Regions from separate parts of the Homo sapiens genome. Here all the other regions are linked to region 2. Evidence: promoter capture Hi-C in 16 types of primary human blood cells and fetal thymus (Javierre and others, 2016). All regions are on one chromosome and are shown on one strand. Each heading gives the region's core, a stretch centred on a gene start or on the middle of the fragment in contact. The rest is flanking DNA. Distances are from core to core; before and after follow the strand shown.

Region 1 (2,731 bases), core at 106-2,605, 210 kb after region 2:
AACATTTTACCATGTTTGTTTTATCATTCTCCCTCTGTATAATATGTACTAATTTGTTCTGAGCTACTTGACAGTAGGTTATAGACATGATGAATACTTCAGTGTGTTATTTCCTAAAAACAAGGAAATTCTCTTATACAACCACAATTATAATATCAAGATCAGGAAATTAACACAGATATAGTACTATTATCTTATTTAAAGACCTGTAAATTTTGCTAGTTATCCCACAGTATCATTTATTTTAAAAATAAATAAAAAAATGTATTTTTCAGAAGTTAGGCTTGAGTTCTTATTAAAAAATTAATTAATTAAATTTTTTTTTGTCTGGTCCAGAATCTGACCCTGGATCACATGTTGAATTTGCCTGTTATGCTGCTTTGGTCTCATTTAGTCTGGAAGAGTTTCTCTGTTTTTGTCTTTCATGGCCTTGACTATGGGTGATTTATTTTGTAGAATGTCCCTCAATTTGGGTTTGTTTGATGGTTTCTCATGACTGCATTCAGACTATGTTTTTTGACAGGAATACCCTAGAACTGAAATTAAATTAGAAACCCATGATATCTCTGTCCCTTTACTGGTGATGTTTACTTCAGTGACTTGCTTAAGATGGCCTCTGCCAACTATACACTGTAAAATTACTATGTTTTTCCTTGGTAATTTATAAGTATTTTGAGTACTTGTTAGTTCCTTTGAGACTATGTAAATATCCTGCTTTTCATCAAATTTCTACTACTTAAATGCTATTATAAACTATAATATTTCTACTATCTAAAAACTATTCTAAATTCTTAGCATTTATAATTTTTTTATTTTTTTAAAAATTATTTATTCCTTTATTTATTTTTTGAGACAGGGTCTCACTCTGTTGCCCAGGCTGGAGTACAGTGGCACAATCTTGGCTTGCTGCAACCTCCATTTCCCAGGCTCACTCGATTCTCCTGTCTCAGCCTCCCAAGTAGCTGGGACTATAGGCATGTGCCACCATTCCCAGCTAATTTTTGTATTTTTTGTAGAGACAGGGTTTTGCCATGTTGCCCAGGCTGGTCTCAGAGTCCTCAGCTCAAGCAGTTCACCCCCTCCTTGGCCTCCCAAAGGGTTGGGATTATAGGTGTGAGCCACTGTGCCCAGCCTATTTTTATTTTTTAATTAATTAATTTTTTTTTTGAAATTTTTTGAGGCAGGGTCTTCCTGCCTCAGTGCAGGCTGGAGTGCAGCGGCGCGATCATAGCTCACCACAACCTCAAACTTCTGGACTCAAGGTTTCCTCCCGCCTCAGCCTTCCGAGTAGCTAGGACTGCAAACACACACCACCATGCCTAGCTAATTCTTAAATTTTTTTTGTAAAGGCAGGATCTCGCTATGTTGCCCAGGCTGGTCTTAAACTTGTCGGCTCAAGTGATCCTCCCTAGTTGCCTCCCAAAGTGCTGAGATTACAGGTGTGAGCCACCATACCCAGGCAGTTTTAGCATTTAATGATGATTCTTCCTGTAACAATTATGACTGTGGTGGCCAAATGGGCATTTTCTAAAGTCTATCATTCTTTCTACATTTATTGGTTAGTATTATGCTCTAAGGAAGTGTTTTCCCTTCCCCCCTCTATTTACATATTTATTTATCTATTTATAATTTATTTCTATCAGTAGGGACTCATGGATTCTTATTTTATTCTGTAGATTTATAATTCATTACAGGTTGAGCAGCACAAATCTGAAATCCTGAATGCTCAGATTCAAAACTTTTTGAGCATTGACACGTCATTCAAAGGAATTGCTCATTGGAGCATTTCAGATTTCGGTTTTTTGGATTTGGGATGCTCAACCAGTAAGTGTTAAAAGCGCATATTCCCAAATCTGAAAAAATCCTAAATCCAAGTATCAGATAAGGGATCTGGTCTCAAGTATCAGATAAGGGATACTCAACCATTTTTTCATCTCCTGATAGGATAGGCTACACATGGAACTTTTACGTAAGCCTCAATACTTAAAGAATAGTATTTCTAGAGATTTTCTAGTATTTCTATCTGTTTGGGTGTACCTGACTAATCCATAGCTAAAATTCCTCTACCGCAGTTCTAGAATAAGGAAAATATGATGGTGTCTTAGAACCTCACAGTTTTTTAATTAACTTTAGCAATCTGCACATCGTGCTGCCACACGAGGCTTCATTCGTTATGGCTGGCGCTGGGGTTGGAGAACTGCAGTGTTTGTGACTATATTCAAGTAAGTTCACTCTGAATTGTGAGATAGTGAATTTTCTTGATATTGTTTTAGGAGTGTGTCTTTTGAGCAGGTGGGGTTATGAAAACTGAATACCCACATGAAAGTGATTAATAATGCCTTTTTTTTTTTTTCAAGAACTTTTCTCTGTGTAAAAGACTGGTGTAGTTATGGTTTTACAACCATGTCTGGAACACATTGAAGGGGCCTAGGCTAGGAACAGGGATTGATATAGTAGGCTTTTCTAAATCTATTAAGTCAGTGAAAATAACACTCAAGAAGGTAAATGGGATATGCTTTAAATCTTATATTTTCCTTCTCCTCCCTTTTTACCAGCACAGTGAACACTAGTCTGAATGTATACCGAAATAAAGATGCCTTAAGCCATTTTGTAATTGCAGGAGGTAAGACATTTTTGTTTATATTTTTCAGTCTTCTCAAATACAGTTTAGAAAATGTGTAAGGACTTATACATCAGAACTACTGAATTCTTTGGTTGGCTTCCCATTACA
Region 2 (2,700 bases), core at 3-2,502:
CAAGAGAAGCCAGAAATTCAGATTTTATGTGAAATCTCTTAACTTTTTAATGCTAGCTACTAATTTTAAAACGTGTTAAAGCATGGTGTCTGCCAGCCAAGTACATCTATGGGCCAGATCTGGCAGGGTGGCTATCAAGTTGTGACCTCTGACATAGAGAAAATGTCAAGGGTCAAAGTTCATAGACTGTTAAGGTTACATAGAGAGACAGTGACTGTAAAGGGATTCAGTACCTAAAATGCTACGGATGCAGCTTTGCCAGCAATCTGAGCTGTATGACATATGCCCCTATCCTTCAAGCCTGTATATGGATTTGAATTTATACAGGAAGTTTCATCTAATCCTCAAATGGTTAAATCACAAGAATTTGAGTGCTTTCTGTGTGCTGAGTACACAGAAGTTAAAGAATTTAAAATCTAACTGGAGAAGAAAAAAACATGCCCTCTTGAAACAACTTGAAACAAATTATGAAAGAACCTGGGAGACTGCTTTCTTCACATTTCATGTGTCAGAGGCATCTTAAATCCTGGTTTGTCCCCCCCAAATCACTTCCATTTAGAAAACTTTGCAGTAGTGTGTGTGTGTGTCTTGAATATGTAACCAGAAATCTGATTTCCTGGGCAGTGGTTACAAAGCTGCAGCCTCTCTTTGCCCAGGGGTATCTTTACCCCAGAGTGGGAGGGGAGTGAGCTGAGGTGGGGGTGCACGAACGCTGCAGAGGAGGTTGGGATGGGAGTGGCCGGCGTGAAGCCACTGCCTGTCAGGTTTCTCCGCTGGAGTCCCCTGTTTGTCTCTGTCATTACTCTTTAAGTATTTGCGTAGCAGACAGGCGGGCACCGAAATAGAAAGTGTCAAAGATACGATGACAATGAGGATAAAACCAGGGCAGAGGGTTCTGAAAGTCCCAACCAGCACGGTCCCCGCAGAATGCCAGCGCACCTCCTCCCGCCACTTCAAAGAGCCGGCTCGGCGGGGCAGGAAGCGGCGGCTGCGGCTGCGGGTCCTGCGAGAAGAGCGCGATTTCCTCCGGGGCTGCCCAGTTATCTCTGGAGTCGCAGAACTGCTCTCGGGAGAACGCGTTCTCTACCCCAACCCCGTGCTCCTCAACCCACCCACCTACTTCCTCTAGCTCCACACACTCACAAGCACCGAGCTGCCAAAAATTTCCACCCACCGCCCCCCTCCCTAGCTAACTTCCTTCCAGCATTTCCTGAGCTGGATGATCCTAGGATTTGTAAGACAGGAAAAAAAGGAAGGCGTGAGGGCGGGCAGCAGCGACAGGATGCTTGTTTTTCGCTCTACCAAAGTCGTCTGAAGGCGAGACAGCGGGCCCAGGGCGCAGGACCCACCGCAGCCCCCTGGGCAGTCTCCTCGCCCCGCGTCCGCGTCGTCTCCGGGGCACTTAGTAAGGGGTGGGGAGAGCTTGCCCTCCCTCTTAAGCTGAGGAGAAACACCCGAAGACACCGCAGGAGCCTGTGAAAGTCCCTAGGACTCCAAGTGAGGAAGTGACACTCCCAGGCGAGCCGGCCCGCGGCTGCCAGTCTGCACGGCCTCGGCACGGCGGCCCCGGAGCGGCGCGGGGTGGATCTCAGGCTCTGCCGGCCCGCGGCCCGCGGGGTCCATGCGCAGGGCCCCCAGCCCAAGTTCTTCCATCTTCCGATGCGGCCCCCCAGAGCCGCGGGGCAGCCGGTGATCTAGCCCGGGAGCCCATCTTACAGCGGTGCCAAGCAGAGGGGCGGCAGAGACGGAGGGGCAGCCTCTTTGGGACTAACTCATGAAGAACAAGGGTGCTAAGCAGAAGCTGAAACGAAAGGGAGCCGCCAGCGCGTTTGGCTGTGACCTGACGGAGTATCTGGAAAGCTCGGGACAGGATGGTAATGTGCCTTGGCCTTTCTCCCCCGCCCCCACCTTCTTTTTGTTTGAGGGAGAGACGGACTCTCTCGAGTTGTGATAGAGTCGGTTCACAAGTTAATGTATTCCAGGCCTGTGCGCTCATTGCACTTTTTTTTCTTTTTTTTTTTTAAAGAACATAAACGATTCTTAAGGTGCACAGCGCTGCTGTCCCGACGCGCAGAGGCTGCTGTGTCAGTCCTTCCGTTTGCCTCACACAAGCTGTTAATGGGTGGTACTGCCGCAAGTTTACCGGGCCACCTCAGGGGATGGGGGTGGAAGCTGCAGAGGTCCCAATCCTAAACTTGGCACGTTGGAAGGGAGGGAGGAGGGGTGGACATGTGGGATGGTGATCAGTGGTCTTGCCTGGGTACAAAATCATGACCGCCTTAGCTGTCCCTCCTGGGCTCTCCAATTTCGTCTGCTCACATCTTTTTTTATTAATGTGTTAGAAGGCAGTTGCGGGTGGGGGGTGGGGGAGGATCCTGGCTGGGGGAGTGGTTGCACAAACATTTCTGAATTTCTGAGCTGATGCCAAATATATAGTACCTCCACCCCCTTTCCACAACCCCCTCCCCGCCCTGCAAGACCTTTTCCCTCCTCTTGGCTTTCAGATTAACATTTGGTGTGTCAGACAAGAAGAGTGTTGTAAAAAGGTCAGAGGGCCTCCATTTTTAAATAGTTTAGGGTAAGTAGAGAAAAGGAAAACTTCTCTGTTTTCAAGGTCAGATGGGGGTAGGGGGGAGTTGGGGATGGGGGAATCCAGCGGAGACAATTTAAACATTTGTTGGGGAAGGGGGAAAGAAAACA
Region 3 (2,700 bases), core at 40-2,539, 150 kb after region 2:
TATGCACTAGGAAATCAAAAAATTGACATGACTCGTTTATTGTGATATTCGCTTTATTGCAGCAGTCTGGAACAGAACTTACAACATCTCTGAGGTATGCCTGTATGTTTAAAACTAAAATGTATTTAAATTACATAATTATTTCATTGTTTTAAGGGGTGTGGAGAGCCTCTAAGAGTAAGTTTCTTTATATACTTAAATTGAAACAGAAAAGTTTGCTAGCCATCCTGATAATAGTAATCCTCTTAAACTTGGCCAAAATATTCTTCAATATACCCATAATTAGCCGTTCAAATCAGACACGGTTAATCTTCTGATTCAACCAGTAAGGAGAATGACTAAAAATTTATTTTCAACTCAAATGGCTGAAATATTAATCTATAAATATAGAAACAATTCATGTAAAATATATTCCTCATATGAAATCAGAGTCATGAAAAATGTTCGTAACAGATAATTCATTTTGTAGAAAACAAGGGTAATATTAATGAATTCAGTTGATGAGTGACTTAAATAACTGTTTAAACAATGTAATCAGACCTACTATAGTATAACCAATAGAAAGACTGTTCCTGTCATCCTTATTAGCACAATCTCTAATTATGACTTGATTTTATACTTTGTAATTACCCACATAAATTCACGCTAACACTTCAGCACCATAAATAATATAAAGCAGTAATTCTCAAACTTGAGCATGCATCAGAATCACCTTGAGGGCTTGTTAAAACACAACTTGCTAGGTCCTACTTTCCAGTTTCTATTTCAGTAGGTTTGGGGTAGATTCTGAGAATTTCCAACAAATTTATAGGTGATGCTGATGCTGCTGTTCTAGAAACTACATTTTGAGAACTACTGATACAGTAATGATTAAGACAAAGACTCTGGAATCAAAAAAACCTTACTCCTCAGCCTGGGCAACATGGTAAAATCCTGTCTCTACAAAACAAAACAAAACAAAAATTAGCGGGGCATGGTGGTGTGCACATGTAGTCCCAACTACTTGGGAGGCTGAGGTGGGAGAATTGCTTGAGCCTGAGAGGTCAAGGCTGCAGTGAGCTGAGATCGCTCTACTGCACTCCCGCCTGGATGACAGAGCAAAACCCTGTCTCAAAAAAAAAAAGCAACCGTCTCTGGACAGTGGTGGGGTTTGATGGGAAAGTGGCATGACAGAATCTTGTGGAGTATGTGTAACGCTCTGAAGTCTTGACAGGGGATTAAGTCACACAGGTATGTCCACATTTAACAAAACTCCATATACACAAGATTTGGGAATTTTATTTTATTTTATTTTATTTATTTATTTATTTGAGACAGAGTCTTGCTCGTCGCCCAGTCTGGAGTGCCATGGCGCGATCCTGGCTCTGGCTCATTGCAACCTCCATCTCCTGGGTTCGAGTGATTCTTCTGCCTCAGCCTCCCGAGTAACTGGGATTACAGACACGTGCCACCACGCCCTGCTAATTTTTTTATTTTTAGTAGAGACGGGGTTTCGCCATGTTGGCGAGGCTGGTCTCGAACTACTAACCTCAGGTGATCTGCCCACCTCGGCCTCCCAAAGTGCTAGGATTACAGGCTTGAGCCACCGCGCCCGGCGGGAATTTTATTTATATGAATTTAACCTCAAAAGAAAAAAAAGCTGTCAACAAATATCGAGCTCTAGTTAATGATACACACATGCTGAAGTATTGAGGAGGAAGCAAACTGAGGTCTGAAATTTAACTTTGAAATGCATCAAAAGTAAGATGGACTAATGGATAGAGGGATGGAGAGATGGACAGATAAGTATTACACAGTTATAGTAAAACATTAATAGGCAGAATCATCTGGGTAAGGATTACACTGGTGATAGCTGTAAAATTCTTTCAACCTTGTTGAATGTTTAAAAGGTTTTGTAATAAAATGTTAGTTACAATCATAATAATATATATACATGTCTACAGCACTTGAATATGGCATAGAGTAGACCCTCTTACCTGCAGGAAGACATTCCAACACCCCAGTGGATGCCTAAAACCATGGATAGTACCAAACCCTACATACACTATGTTTTTTCCTATACTATATACACATACATACAATAAAGTTTTAACTTATAAATTAGGTACATTAAGAGATTAATAATAAAATAGAACAATTATAACAATATACTGTTTACAATTTCATGGATAGAAGATTCATTCTTACAGTAAATCTTAGCAACCTCAGCATGATTTTTCGTCTTTCCTTACTAAGTCAAGAACTTTCCCTTTTCACTTAAAGGAAGCACTTTACAGCTTTCCTTTGGCATACCTGAATTGTGAGCATAACTACACTTTGGAGCCATATTAAGTAAAATAAAGGTCACGTGAACACAAGCCCTGTGACACCATGCCAGTCCATCTAATAACCAAGTCCGCTACTAAGCAACTAATTGACAGGTAGCATGCACGGCACAGACATGGTGGACAAAGAGATGATTCACATCCTGGTGGGACAAAATGGGATGGCGAGAAATTTCACCATACTACTCAGAACAGCACACAATTTAAAACATAATTTGTCACATATTTCTGGAATTTTCTATTTAATGTTTCTGGACCTTGGTTGATCGCAGGTAACCGAAACTTCAGAAATCAAAACCATGGATAAGGGAGGACTACTTATTGTACTTCTGTTACAGGAAACAGAAGATCAAAGTAATATGACCAACCAAGGGTA
Region 4 (2,700 bases), core at 20-2,519, 150 kb before region 2:
AAAAATAAATCTCCAAAACCAATAGCACTTTGAAGCTACAAGCCATAGCCCAAGACCTATTTTACTCTAAACACAGTATCCAATGGTGTCATGCATTTTTAAATAAATAAGGTAGATAATTCATAAAGTGACATTCAACAAGCACTTCTTGAGCACCTATTATGTTCTAGGCACTGTTACATAAATGACTTTACTTCAGTGTGCTTAGATTCCCCTTTCCATTCCTAAGTATGGTGTCAAGTGTATCCACTCTCCTTTGTCACAAGTATTTGAATTTGGATTTTAAGTCTCATTTCTAATTGTTTAATGCAGTTAAATCCCTACTAAAGGAATATCTGGCATCACACTACCAACCCTTGGCCTGCCTCAGTGATTTCAGGCTTTGCAAGGTCAAAGTAATTTGTCTCATCAATCACCACCTCTGTACTGGCCTACTCCTGAAAGTAGACAGCCTACTGACTCTGAGGTGCATTCTTAAGGTTGATTGCAAAGTGGGAGGACCAAATCTCAAAAACTGGGCCCCACTGGCCAACACTATCAAATACAAATTCTCCACTTGCTAAATATTCCTTCTGGTATCTTTCTCCCACTTTCCTTACTCCCTTCCTTTCTGGAACTCTGATTTGGCCTCCTTCTAACTCGCCTCTCTGCTGTAAGACCACTAGATGGTGCAGTTTTAGAACCCATTCTCACTGGATCTTCTCTCCTCTCTCTGGCTCTCCCGCCACAGATCACATGTCTAATCCAGCAAGAAAACACCTTGGGGCAGGAGTTTCCACTGCCAAGACAGCTATACCCAAAGGGGATGGCAATAGCAACAACCTCTGTTCAGTTTTGTGGTCCTCGTGCAGCTGGTTGTGTGTTCATCTGTTGACATTTGGAGGTGCGGTGGGGGATGTTAATCAGAGGAGCAGTACCTGAGAGAGGGCCTCTTTCTCACACACTGCGGAGAACCTCTGTGAACAAGGAAGAGGGTAACACTCTAGGTGGCGATGCACGGAGCCCCGTGGCCTGGTTGCTCGGCAGGGTGAGGAGAAGCTGTAACTGCCAGAGCCTGAGAATCGCCCCTTCTCAGGACATGGCGTACTCCCTGCGCTCGCCTGCACACTGCAGGGTCAGCTGACTGCCGTCCCTCCACTTACAACAGCGGGACGGCCACTCTCCCTGACGCACGCAGTGACCCGAACAAAGCCCGTGGGAATCATGGGGCGTTCCTGGAGGGTCGCCTAGACGACCCAGCCCAACCCCACCCACAGTGCCTGGCAACCTAGACCAGTCAGGGACGCGGCAGGAAATGGAAGAGCCTCCGCAAGAGGCTCTGGCTGAACCCTTGAAACATGAAAGCCCAGCCGCTCCCTCAAGTGCTGGCCACACTAAGGGCCAGGAAGAAGACGACCAGAAGAACCAGGCCGAAAGGAAGGCAGATAACCACACTGCTCACAGAATAGCTGACCAGACTGCCCTAAGAGTGCCTAGCCAGGCTGAATCCAGCATATTTAGCCAAGCTACCAACGGAGTAGCTGAACAAAATGGGCATAGTACACCTGGTCAGGCTGGCCGCAGAGCATCCAACCCTGCTGATGTTTCTGACCTTAGAGCAGATGATCAGGTTAATCAAACACCGTCTGAACAGACTAAAGGCAAGGCATCTAGCCAAGCTAATAATGTACAGCATGAACAGAGTGATGGTCAGGTGTCTGGCCTGACGGAGGAAAGAACTGCTGAACAGACTGAACGAAGATTACCTACCCAGGCTGAGAGAAGAACTTCTGGGCAGATTGATGGTAGACTGGCTATGCCATCTGACCAGAGAGGTTCCAGACAGACCGACCACAGAATGGCAGGCCAGTCTGAGAGAAGAGCTTCCGAGCAGATGGACCGCAGAATGTCTGGCGAGGCTGAGCGAAGAACTTCTGAGCAGATTACACACAGATTATCCAAACTATCTGAGAGAAGACCTTCTGTGCAGATTGACAGTGGGTCATCCGTCCCATCTGACCAAAGTCCTTCTGTACAGATTGACAGTGGATCGTCCGTACCATCTGACCAAAGACCTTCCGTACAGATTGACCGCAGAATGTCAGGGAAAGTTAGGAGAAGAAGTTCTGAGAAGACTGACTACAGATTGGCTGGCCTGGCTGACCCAGGAACTTCTGAGCAGACTGACCTCAGATTGTATGGCCTCGTTGACCACAAAACATCTGTAAAGACTCACCACCAAGTGTACGGCCAAGCCACTGAACTAGCTGAACACCAGGCTATTGACCAAGCTCATAGTAATGCTGATCAACCTCCAGTTGACAATGCTCACTACACTGAATCTGACCAGACTGACCACTTAGCAGACAGACAAGCTAATCATAAAGACCAGCTGTCTTACTATGAAACACGTGGCCAGTCTGAAGACAGAATATTTCCCCAGTTAGGCAACAGCAAAGAGGACAAAGAGGCTGACTACAGAGTACAACCCTGCAAATTTGAGGATAGCCAAGTAGACCTCAATTCCAAGCCTTCAGTTGAAATGGAAACTCAGAATGCAACCACTATCCCACCCTACAACCCAGTTGATGCCAGATTCACCAGTAACTTCCAAGCAAAAGACCAAGCTCTTTTCCCAAGACTCCCCTCCATCTCATCCAAATTGAACTATACCAGCAGTCAAGAAAAAACTCAAGCCATAGTAACCAAATCTGTAAGTTA

The links. Contacts are between HindIII fragments. The CHiCAGO score rates a contact against its expected background, and 5 or more counts as called.
Region 1: a fragment that was not itself captured here is called in contact with the fragment with the promoter of ARHGAP31 in region 2 in 3 of 17 cell types (naive CD8 T cells, activated CD4 T cells and fetal thymus); the score reaches 5.8 in naive CD8 T cells.
Region 3: a contact is called between a fragment that was not itself captured here and the fragment with the promoter of ARHGAP31 in region 2, in 1 of 17 cell types (naive CD8 T cells). The highest score is 5.3, in naive CD8 T cells.
Region 4: a contact is called between the fragment with the promoter of TEX55 here and the fragment with the promoter of ARHGAP31 in region 2, in 6 of 17 cell types (activated CD4 T cells, total CD4 T cells, non-activated CD4 T cells and 3 more). The highest score is 9.8, in activated CD4 T cells.

Annotation. Positions count from the first base shown.
Region 1 is chr3:119,501,399-119,504,129 of GRCh38, forward strand. It overlaps TIMMDC1 (translocase of inner mitochondrial membrane domain containing 1), which reads left to right. Exons shown (of 7, transcript NM_016589.4): 3 at 2,134-2,222; 4 at 2,556-2,623. Among named protein-coding and RNA genes, the nearest start is that of TIMMDC1, 4.2 kb to the left of the region's middle. The HindIII fragment of the contact is 5,898 bases long and covers 1-2,731 here.
Region 2 is chr3:119,293,131-119,295,830 of GRCh38, forward strand. ARHGAP31 (Rho GTPase activating protein 31) reads left to right here and starts at 1,253. Exons shown (of 12, transcript NM_020754.4): 1 at 1,253-1,874. The coding sequence starts at 1,775. RefSeq lists an enhancer at 676-725 and a silencer at 1,566-1,685. The HindIII fragment of the contact is 3,332 bases long and covers 1-2,700 here.
Region 3 is chr3:119,443,968-119,446,667 of GRCh38, forward strand. All of the region lies in intron 5 of TMEM39A (transmembrane protein 39A), which reads right to left. Among named protein-coding and RNA genes, the nearest start is that of TMEM39A, 18 kb to the right of the region's middle. The HindIII fragment of the contact is 6,903 bases long and covers 1-2,700 here.
Region 4 is chr3:119,144,896-119,147,595 of GRCh38, forward strand. It overlaps TEX55 (testis expressed 55), which reads left to right and starts at 1,270. Exons shown (of 3, transcript NM_152539.3): 1 at 1,270-2,692. The coding sequence starts at 1,295. It also overlaps a transcript of IGSF11 not described here. RefSeq lists a silencer at 527-821. The HindIII fragment of the contact is 11,642 bases long and covers 1-2,700 here.